Linked DNA regions of Homo sapiens: regions 1 and 3 are each linked to region 2. The links are contacts of gene promoters, found by promoter capture Hi-C in blood cells and fetal thymus (Javierre and others, 2016). All regions are on one chromosome and are shown on one strand. The core of a region is centred on a gene start or on the middle of the fragment in contact, and the rest is flanking DNA. Distances in the headings are between cores, read along the strand shown.

Region 1 (3,807 bases), core at 1,213-3,712, 140 kb before region 2:
CCACTGATATGAAAACATCTGGATCAATTGCATTTTCAACATTTGGATATTTGAAACTTACTTTAGTGTTTGGAACTTGATTCCATTCAACTTGGGGGGAATTTTATTTACCAAAGACCTATTGTTAACCAAGAATCAGGTGAGGCACTGATGCAAAAATGAATATAACAATATCCTTACTCTGGCAGAGCAGATAAACAATATGCAGTAAATTTCATGCAGATTACAGGAGATCCGGGCCCAAAGGGATGATGTGATGATGATGATAATCTCTCCAATTTAAATAAGAGGAAATCCTGGTTTTACAATTACACAATTTGTCTGAGGCTGCACAGCTAGTGCAGCGGCAAGGCAAGAATCTAAGCCGAGGTGTACTGGATAACAAGGTCCAGTCTTCTTGGAGTCCTTCTTCCGCCACAGCACCATCTAGGTTAATCAGTGAGGCACTCAGGATGGTTAAATTGGGAGCCAAATGGAAAATGCATTGAAAAGTCTGGAGCGAGGAGCACTCAGATGGGACAAGAGTCTGTGCCAGGTACCAGGTGGTGCAGTGTAGACTGGAGAGGACAGATGTGAAAGATTGTGTGCTCATGGCCTAAGTGAAGCCACAAGTCTCTTCAGTGCTCTGGGGTTAATACTAACCCCACCTCTAAGTGATTCAGTGACTGTGGATGGTAAAGTTGAATCTCAGATCTAATTAGTGTCTTAACCTGAGCTCATCCTGGCATGCATCATTCCACAACAGAGGAGGGTGAAGCAAGACTTTCTAGTACTATTTGGAAGCAGGCGGGGGTAATATTCAAAATGTTGAAAAACTGGAGTAGCACAATTACCAGTTAATCAGAACTGAGGCAGATGAGCTGATGGGTACAGTCACCATTGTGCCAAACATTAACCCTCTAATGACTGACTCATGGGAAGGCATAGGAGGAGAGGCCTGGGGATGGGCTGAGAGAGGTAATGAGTATTTACCATTTTGCACTTTTGTTGCTTTTTAATCCAATGTAAGAATAGACGTACTGCATACTTCCTGGGTTTTACCAGCCCCTAAATTTACTCACTTAAAAAATTTAATTACATAGACACGAATCATTCATTGTAGTTGCTAAATATTGGTAGCAACTAACTCGTTGCCTTTTGTTGGAATTTCAGATTTTCAGTAGAGAATGTGACTGGCCCAGTCTGAGGCAGGTGTCCATTCCTGGTCACCACCATTATTTTTGGGCAGAAGAGCATACTCACAGAGTTAAACATAATAATTAAAATTGTGTTTTCCTGGCTGGGCATGGTGGCTCATGCCTATAATCCCAGCACTTTGGGAGGCTGAGGCGGGCAGATCGCCTGAGGTCAGGAGTTTGAGACCAGCCTGGCCAAGATGGTGAAACCCCGTCTCTACTAAAAATACAAAAATTAGCTGGGTGTGGTGGCATGCACCTGTAATCCCAGCTACTCGGGAGGCTGAGGCAGGAGAATTGCTTGAACCCGGGAGGCAGAGGTGGCAGTGAGCCGAGGTTGTGCCACTGCACTCTAGCCTGGGTGACAGAGTAACACTCTGTCTCCAAAAAAAAAAAACAACTTATAAATCAATAAGAAAAAGATGAACAACCAAATGAAAAACGGTCTAGGACATGAATAGGTAATTCCCAAAAGAATAAATATAAATGGCCAGTTCACATGTGGCAAAAACAAAACAAAACACAGAATCTCTCTAATATCAAAAAATGCAAATTCAAACATGTTATAATTTTTAAATTATCAGTTGATCCTGGATAAAAATACAGACAGTATACACTGTTGACAAGGCTAAGGAAAGAAGTCTTCTCACTCACTTCTCGGGGGATGGAGTTTTCTGCTTGAAAATTAGGTGAAATGTATCAACTCCCCCTCCCCACAAAAAAGTGCATAATATGATTAGCAAGTCTACTTCCAAGAACTTGACTCTGAGGAAACAGACAATGAAAATAATAGTAATGTTAATATTGAGCACTTACTATTCGACAGGCATTCTGCTGAGTGCTTTCCGTGTATTTCTTCACTTACCCAATGTAACAATCCTATAACACTCTCCATGAGTGGGGAAAATGAGAACAACTCTAAGTGTTTCAAAAATTGTAGACTATAAAATCTACATTTACAGTTGCAAGCTGTATTCCACACATATGATGGATAATATGCAATCAAATATATATATTTGTTGCTACTAAAGATATTCATTTTATACTATATGATTTTAAATGCTATTAAAATTATACAGATATATATCTATGTATAGGAAAAGAGCTGCAAATATGTATACGATGGCTGTCTCTAAGCAGTGAGATTCCAAAATATTTTAACCTTTTCTCTGTATTTTCTATTTTTCTTCACATCTAACATACGTCAGTGGTGGTGTGTTGTTTTTGTTTGTTTGTTTTTTTGAGACAGGGTCTTGCTCTGTCACCCAGACTGGAGTGCAGCGGCCAGATATTGGCTCTCTGCAACCTCCACCTCTCAGGCTCAAGGGATCCTCCCGCCTCAGCCTCCCATACCACACCTGGCTAATTTTTGCATTTTTTTTTCTTTTTTGAGACAGAGTTGCACTGTGTAGCCCAGGCTGGAGTGCAGTGGTGCGATCTCAGCTCACTGCAACCTCTGCCTCCCGGGCCCCAGTTCAAGCAATTGTCCTGCCTCAGCCTCCTGAGTAGCTGGGATTACAGGCACATGCCACCATGTCCGGCTAATTTTTGTATTTTTAGTAGAGACAGGGGTTTCACCATGTTGGCCAGGCTGGTCTTGAACTCCTAACCTCGTGATCCACCCGCCTTGGCCTCCCAAAGTGCATTTTTTTTTTTTTAAAGGATGGGTTTTCACCATGTTGCCCAAGCTGGTCTAGAACTTTTGGGCACAAGTGATCCATCCACCTCGCCCTGCCAGAGTGCTGGAATTATAGGCGGGAACTGCCGCGCCTGGCCCACTTGTGCTTTAAAAGGAGAGACACACATAAACACACTGCTGCTTACAAAATGTGAATTGATACCCTTCTTTCCACCAATATGTAAGGGTGAAAAGTCTAATTTCAATGGAAATTATCAGAATAATACATGTAATTCAAATTATCTACAATAGTGCAATGGCCTTGAAAATTTGGGGATGAGATCTGAATCTCTGAAGAAGGCAGGACTTTTATCTGTGTCATCTGAAAAAATTACATGTACTTTGCAGCACAGATATATGCAGTTATGTTCAGAAAATTCAGTCTGTTTCCAAAGAATCACCTCCCTGGACTATCTCAAACAAGCTGTAAGAAAAATGAGGTGAACACACTTGCTAAGCAAACAGGCCTCAGGCCTCCCCTTCAATCTTAAGAGTTGTGAGCTGTTAGGTCATGACCAGACCTAGACTGTACCCCTGCTGTTGTTTCATGAATATCCATGACTTTCTGTCCGTTACTGAATAAAAGTTGTGAGCAGCCAGAGTTTGGTTCAATAAAAGGGCACCTTTCTTGCACAGAGACTTAACAGATAAAATAATTCATTAACTTATTAATGCCATAAACACTGAATACATTAAATGTGGGGGAAAGATGCATAGATCAAGTCCCTGCCCTTACAGAGATGATAGGGTTGTGGAGAGAGTTACACCAACAGTTACAAGTACTTGACGCCACTCTGAAGCTGAGCAGGCATCATAGTAGCTACAAGGGGGGGAAGAAATACCTGGGTCTGTCTGAAAGATCAGGGAACCTCCTTGTGAGGCACCAATACATCTAATCACTCTGTAGTTACTGACTACTAGGCACCATGAGAGATGTCAAAACTTGGTCAGGCA
Region 2 (3,936 bases), core at 189-2,688:
CTTTGAGCAACTTTTAGCAGTTTGAATTTAGACTGCTAGCTTCTTTGAGTCTCAGTTTCTGAATTTATCAAATGCAGTTAGTGGTATACTATCTGATCTAACTGCTTTGTCCTATGTGTCCTTCAGAAGTATCCTCGAATGTGGTGATATATTGACAGAGCTGGTGGATTCATCAGAATGTGGGAATGTTCCTATTTTTATTCTACACTTCAGCCTGCCAGTTCAAATCCTTCCCAGTTCAGCTCCAAAGCAGCCCCTCTCCCATCACTCAAAGGCCATCCAATTCCCATTCTCACAGTTCCTCAAGACAGAAAGGATCCTTCAACTCCATGGCCCTTCATCAGCATATATATATATATATATATATATATATATATATATATATATATATATGTATTTTTTTTTAAATTGGAGATGGGGTCTCACTATGTTGCCCAGGCTGGTCTAGAACTCCTGGGCTCAAGTGATCCTCCTGCCTCGGCTTCCCAAAGTGCTGGATTATAGGCTTGAGCCACCACGCCAGCCCATCAGCACATCTTTAATTGCATTTTTCCACAGTCTTCCTTAAGTAATTCGTTTTCATGAACTATCTTTTCTTTTAGACTGGGTTTGCTGAAGGGAGCGGAGGCTCCTGTCTTCCATTTCAGTCATGTCTTACTAGACACTAAATAGAGGTAAATTACTGAATGCATTCAATCTGCATCAAGCCTCCGGTAGTCCTACAGTAACTGGTATCCCTCCCCTCCCCAGAAAATAATATTTTGTTTTATTAATGCTGGCTACAGCAGAGTCTGGTTTTCTTAAGAGTTCCTGCAAATCACAGGTTCGTCCTTTAACTTTGAGACCCAGGGAAGGAGGGAGCAAGGGAGGGAGGGAGGGAGGATGCTGTCAAGTCCGCAAAAATATGGACAACCTCAGAAACCTATAAACAGAAATATACTAACATGGTATATTTCTTACTTTTAAGGCCCTGAAATTATTAATTTTCCTTTCTTCTTTCTATGCGATTTTGGTTTCCAAATGTGTACATTGAGCAGGTATTGTTTTATGATTAGGGCGAAATTGCTGCTGCTGCTGCTGCTGCTGCTGCTGCTGATTACAAAAAATAGGCTGCAAGCAAGCCGTGCTTCCATTTAAAAGCTCCTCTTTGTTGCCTCGACAAGCAAGGGGTACTCGATAGCACTTTTCGGTTAGATTCTAATAGAAAGAAAGCTTTAAATTTCTCTCTCGGAAGCACTTTGTCAGCCAGGGTTTTCCCTCTCGCCCACCCTGCAGTTAAGGAAATCTAAGAGGTGGAAGTGGGGCGGGCTGGAGGGCCACAGACAGCCGCTGACCCAGACGCCCCATCTCCCGCCCCAGGGCGAGGGTGCGCGCTGTCGCTTATTGGCCAGCAGGGTCCCAGACCTTGACCAATCGCCTGGGGCCGGGTCGTCATGGCGACGCGCCACGCTAACGCATGGTGTCGGAGGGAGGCCCACTTGCTGAACAGCAGGGAGCGATGGCGCAGAACGTGTATGGTCCGGGAGTCCGGATAGGCAACTGGAATGAGGATGTCTACCTGGAGGAGGTACGCAGGGTGTGGCCAGGCGCAGACCCGCAGCTCAGGAACTCCCAGACCCTGCTCTAAGTTCAGTCTCCTACTTTGAGCGCCTCAAGCCTCCTCTCTCTCCCAGCATACAGCGAATACCTCTAAAATCCCCCACTTCTCTAAACTCCCAAGGAATCTCACCTGCCGAACTGCAAACCCAGGTCTCACTGACCTCTACTCCGAGCACCCTGACTTTTCTTTCTCTGGGTCCCTTGGCCTCCCAAAGTCAGATGCCTTGACTCTCAAGCCCCTGGCCTGTGTCTCCCGCTTAGTCTAGAGCCCCACTAAGTCCCCCGTATTCCTTAGAGTCTTACAGTCTCAGGCTGCGGGCCAGGTGAGGACACAGGTTCTAGGTAGAAATAATATCCCTCCCCACTCCAACCCTGCCACGCTTGCCCTCTTAAATGACCCTGAGTATTCCTTTTATTGACGTTGTACTCACTCACTGCCTCGTATTCTCCCAAGGGTGGTCTTAACAAGGCTTTGAGCCATTCGTATACGGGTCAGATTGGGGAGGGGTGAACTTTCTAGTGTCAGTCATCATACGGTCAAGGGAAACCCCAGCAGGGGAGACATGGCCTCCAAATGTCATTTAGGATGGTATCTGGCTGGAGTAATTACTGGTGATGTTTCTTTTTCTTTGTTTTGCCTTTCTCATTTTTCTAAACATTCTATAATGTAGTAAAAATATTAAAGTAGTGCTAAAAACGTTCCATCATTCCAATTATGCTCACATCTCTTTTTTTGTACTCAAATTTTGCTTTTTCAACTTGGAAGAGCTTCTGACCTAAAAGTTATTAATACTAACATCTATATTATTCAGGGCTACTTTTGTTGATTTTCTGTTTAGGAGCTCATGAAAGACTTCTTAGAGAAGAGAGACAAGGGGAAACTTCTCATACAGAGAAGTAGAAGACTAAAACAGAATCTCTTGAGACCGGTAACTTTTTTTTTTTTTATTACACTTTAAGTTTTAGGGTACATGTGCACAACGTGCAGGTTTGTTACATATGTATACATATGCTATGTTGGTGTGCTGCACCCATTAACTCGTCATTTAACATTAGGTATATCTCCTAATGCTATCCCTCTCCCCTCCCCCCACCCCACAACAGGCCCCAGTGTGCGATGTTCCCCTTCCTGTGTCCATGTGTTCTCCATTGTTCAATTCCCACCTATGAGTGAGAATATGCGGTGTTTGGTTTTCTGTCCCTGCGATAGTTTGCTCAGAATGATGGTTTCCAGCTTCATCCATGTCCCTACAAAGGACATGAACTCATCATTTTTTATGGCTGCATAGTATTCCATGGTGTATATGTGCCACATTTTCTTAATCCAGTCTATCGTTGTTGGACATTTAGGTTGGTTCCAAGTCTTTGCTATTGTGAATAGTGCCGCAGTTGGTGGGACTGTAAACTAGTTCAACCATTGTGGAAGTCAGTGTGGCAATTCCTCAGGGATCTAGAACTAGAAATACCATTTGACCCAGACATCCCATTACTGGGTATATACCCAAAGGATTATAAAACATGCTGCTATAAAGACACATGCACACGTATGTTTATTGAGACCGGTAACTTTAAATTCAGACATTGTTTTCAAAATTCTGTTGAACTTGGTGTGAGTATATGTTAAGCAAGAAAAAAATTTCATAACTGAGTTACCATTTGGAAAATAACAGTTTTTAAAAACAATTTGCAATGTTTTAAATTCTTCTAAGATTTTAGAAACATAAACAGTCTGCCCTAAATCATGTTTACCTGCATTTTACAAATAAAGAAATAAATGAGTTAATATGTAAATAAGTAAAATGCCCCTTAGTTGGTAATCGACAAATTTTTCAATGAATGTTGAATTTCTAGGATAATGAGTAAATCCATGTGATTTTAACCAGCTTTATTCGACTTCATTTGGAATTATTGGGAGCTTTGCCTTGGCAAAGGGGAAGGGAAAGGAAGAAGGAACTAAGGGTTCGAGGGAATCCAAGTGAAATCCTGAATGAAATGGGTACTAGTCCGAGAAGGAAGAAAATTGCCTTGGCAGTAACTGTTGAGGAATTGCATGGTTTATGTAATAAACTACTATCAAAATTGTAGATGCAACTTTCCGTAACTGAAGATGGCTATATTCATTACGGTGACAAAGTGATGCTTGTGAATCCTGATGATCCTGACACAGAAGCTGATGTGTTTCTGCGTGGGGACCTGAGCCTGTGTATGACTCCAGATGAAATTCAGTCCCATCTGAAAGACGAATTAGAGGTACCCTGTGGCCTGAGCGCAGTTCAAGCCAAGACCCCAATTGGCAGAAACACTTTTATCATTTTGAGGTAAAGAGACTTTAATTTT
Region 3 (3,668 bases), core at 1,169-3,668, 130 kb after region 2:
CCAATGACCAAGAAATCTGCAGCGCCCACGGACAGGCAGCCTTACTCTCTCTGCAGTAACAGGAAGTCCCTCTCTCAACAATTGGACTGTCCAGCAGGAAAGGCTGCGGTAAGAATGGAAGGAGGGAAACTCAGAGAAGAGTTTCTCCCGGGGAGAAGGGAGGGGCCCAACATTAACAGTGGCTGAAGAGGCCTTCCCAGTAGTTTTTTTGTCCGCAGAACTACAGAGGAGAGGGTCTCGCTTAGTAGCTGCAAGAAGGTACAACCATCTCTGGGCTGAGAACCGCATTAGAAATGGTCATCCATTGAGCGCCCCCTTGTGCCAGGCACTTGCAACTGCTGCCACGTGTGTGCTATTAAGAGCTAACATGTAGAGAACACGGCACGCGGGGGGACCCTGAACTATGGCTTTGCGTGGATCGCTTTATTTCATCTGCACATACTCCTAAGAGGTAGAAGAGGGAGCTACAGCTTGGGCAAGTTAAAGGATTTATGCACATTCACACTGTTGAGGAGAAACAGCTGGGACTTCAAGTCTGATCTTTATGACTCTGAAGCCTGTGCGAAAAGGCTTTTCACTCCTATAATCTAGTGACCTGCTTTACCAACATTGCCTCTAATTCTTAAAACAAGCTTAGAAAGGAATATGTTGTTAGTCCCATTTTATAGTAGGACACTGAGGCTTGGCAAAGTGAGTAGCTGGGTTTATGCATCTTAAAACCTATAGGACCAGAATTTAAACTGCCCTGTGTGCTCCTCAGTCCATGACCTTCCCACTACAGGTGTCAGCTTGCAGGCAGAGAGCTAAGCAGATATAAAGCACAGTGTACCCTACACACGTCCCACCAGCTTGCCTTTCAGCCCCAGCCAAAGCACGCTGTGCTGCACGCTGCCACTTTTGGTCACACAGCGCCCTCTGTCTGTAGCATCTCACCCCTCCTTCTCTGATCTCTATCTCTAGAAACTGCCCCAGCCTTCAAAAACCTTCCTAAGGTTCTCTTTTGCCTGGGAAAGCTCCTGATCTCTCCAAAGGCGTGGACTTCACATTTTCCCAAATGCCCATCAGGAAGCAACTGCACTCCTCTCACAGTGCTCACCCAGCCTGTCTTGTGAGTGTCATTTATGTTAGCATTTCATCTCACCAACTGACTCTCCCAAGGAGGGTCTCCACGGTCAAGCAATGTTTCCCTGCATAGTACATAATAGATGCTCAGTGAATTTCATCTCTCTCTTCCCTTCCTTTCCTTGAGTCAATGTGTTTTTCATTCCCAAACTGGGAGTGTGGTGTCCTAGTGTTAGAAGAAGGTGGCTTCCCTGGTGCCACCCTGAGCTGAGAACTTTCCCAGTCCCTGGTTTTCTGCACATCTGGGGTCATACAGGAGTACACTGGAGCCCTCCAATATCTGCAGCCAGCGCTGGGTCCCTGAGGATTGGGCTAGCGGGTACTTCCTGGGGGAAGCTGCTTCCTGTCTTTGCTGCCTCATGCACTAGGATCCAGGTCCTTGGGAACAGGAGGCCTACCTGGCCAGCAGGGATGGGCTAAAGATCAGCCAGTAGTAGCTGCCTGGGAGGCTGTGCTGAAGAGAATTGAGGGGTTACATTCCACCAGGAAGGAGTGCTTCAGGAGATTGGCAGTGTTTTGGGGACAGGAGTGGGAGACTCAGTTATTCCCTCTACTCAACTCCTCAAAGTTTAGGAGGCAATTAGACACTATGTTAGTTGGAGACAGAACCAATAAGAGATGTATAGATAGACACACATACACATACGCAGACACACATACACAGACACACACACACACACACACACACACAGAGAGAGCGAGAGACTGATCATAATGAATTGGTTGGTTTATGGGATTATGAAGGTAGGCAGGTTCCAAGATCTTTAGCATGAATTGACAAGCTGGAGACCCAGGGAAGCCTATGGTTTAGACCTAATTAGAGTCTAAAGGCCTGAGAACCAGGAGAGCCAATGGTGTGGTTCCCATCCAAAGGCCAGCAGGCTCAAGCCCAGGAAGGGCTGATTTTTCAGTTGGAATATAAAGACAGGAAAAAGGCTGATGTCCTAGTTCAAAGGCAGTCACGCACGAAGGATGCTTTCTAACTCAGGGGAGGTCTGTCTTTTCTCTATTCAGGACTTCAGCAGATTGGATGAGGCTCACCTGCATCAGGGCAGGTGATGTGCTTTGGCTACAGATTTCAATGCTCATCTCATTCCAAAGCACCCTCATAGACACACACAGAATAATGGTTGACTAAATATATGGGCACCCATGTGGCCCAGTCAAGTGGACACAGAAAATTAACCACCACGGATGTCCATGCGTGATTTCACATTGTCTTCATAACAGCCCTCCAAAGGAGGAGGAGAGGGAGTTATCAGAGGAAGGTTGTTTCTGGGAGAGAAGAAGAGAAAGTGGGATCCACAGTGGACGGGAAGGCCAGGGAGTGGCTTACAGGACCTGGGTATTTCCTGGGTGACTTTGGAGAGAGCGGCCCATCAGGTGTGGGCAACTGCAAGCCAACAAGAGAGAGGGTGATCCAGAGAAGAGCAGCTCGTTATCCAGGGAATGCTAGTAATAAAGAAAACATGCATTCCATGTTCGCTGCCTTCCAGGCATGAGGCGATGTGTTTTACAAACAGCTATACAGCCAAGGGAGTACAACCCAAAGAGCTAAGTACTGTTAATATCCACCTTTGACAGATACAGAGGCCAGGCTGAGAGAAGTTAAGTGGCCTTCCGAAGGTCATCTAATTCATAGCAACAGGATGGATATGAACACAGGCAGCTCAGAGCCCATGCCCTGCTGCTTCCTCTGCCCAGGTGGCATGGGGACAGCATGGGCCTGGGAGTCAGCAGCCCGGGATCCTGGTTCTGCCTTGCGGCATCTCCGATATCAGAGAGCAGGGAGCAAGCAGCTACCTCCACATTCACAGCTGATGTGTCTGCTTTCGTGGACATGCAGGAAGCACAGCCTTCAGCCCCAGACTCTTTCCAAATATTAAATGCTGAAAGTAGCAAACAGTCTTAGAATTTATAATAATGACAAGAAACATTTCTAAGGCACTTGCTATGTGTCGGGCACCATTTTAAGCACTCGCATAGATTTATTCTTCAAAATGACACTATTAGATAGGCCCCATTAGGACCATGCTTTTACAGCTGAGGAAACTGAGGCAGAGAGGGCTAAGTCACTAAGCTAAGGTCACCCGCCAGCTGATAATGGGCAGAGTCAGAAGAACCCAGACAATGGGGTTCCCAAGTCTAAGCTCTCACCACTAAGCCGTATTTCCCCTCTGCAGGGCGGCTTCCTGTGGCACATAGCTCTGGTTCTCATTCATGAATAGTTAAGCCTGTCTGCCTACCCCAAAATTACATTCTGAGTTTTGAAGTCTTTGGGCTCCGCCCCCTTGCCCACCACCTCCTGCCTGGCACAAGGGGAGTTCTCAGTAAATGTGTCTTGGATTGAACATAGTCTCAGGGCGTTCTTGGTAGCTGGCTTCCCAAATTCTGCCTGAGACCTGGCTTATGAGGACTTGTCCTGGAGGCAGCGTGTTCTGTGATGTTAACCTGGGCCCTACTTCCTTGATAAACCTTAGTGAGCCTTTTGGCTGCTCATCTACATCAGGCTCAGCAAAGCAGGCTCCTAGAACCAAGGAAGTCCC

Evidence for each region. The method cuts DNA at HindIII sites, captures the fragments that hold promoters and counts their contacts. A CHiCAGO score of 5 or more calls a contact.
Region 1: a contact is called between a fragment that was not itself captured here and the fragment with the promoter of CFAP161 in region 2, in 1 of 17 cell types (megakaryocytes). The highest score is 5.5, in megakaryocytes.
Region 3: a fragment that was not itself captured here is called in contact with the fragment with the promoter of CFAP161 in region 2 in 1 of 17 cell types (megakaryocytes); the score reaches 6.1 in megakaryocytes.

Annotation. Positions count from the first base shown.
Region 1 is chr15:80,991,917-80,995,723 of GRCh38, forward strand. No RefSeq gene overlaps it. Among named protein-coding and RNA genes, the nearest start is that of MIR4514, 3.7 kb to the right of the region's middle. The HindIII fragment of the contact is 7,858 bases long and covers 1-3,807 here.
Region 2 is chr15:81,132,832-81,136,767 of GRCh38, forward strand. It overlaps CFAP161 (cilia and flagella associated protein 161), which reads left to right and starts at 1,439. Exons shown (of 7, transcript NM_173528.4): 1 at 1,439-1,567; 2 at 2,439-2,528; 3 at 3,685-3,917. The coding sequence starts at 1,499. The HindIII fragment of the contact is 5,504 bases long and covers 1,211-3,936 here.
Region 3 is chr15:81,265,694-81,269,361 of GRCh38, forward strand. It overlaps IL16 (interleukin 16), which reads left to right. Exons shown (of 19, transcript NM_172217.5): 4 at 1-108. Among named protein-coding and RNA genes, the nearest start is that of STARD5, 57 kb to the right of the region's middle. The HindIII fragment of the contact is 3,577 bases long and covers 631-3,668 here.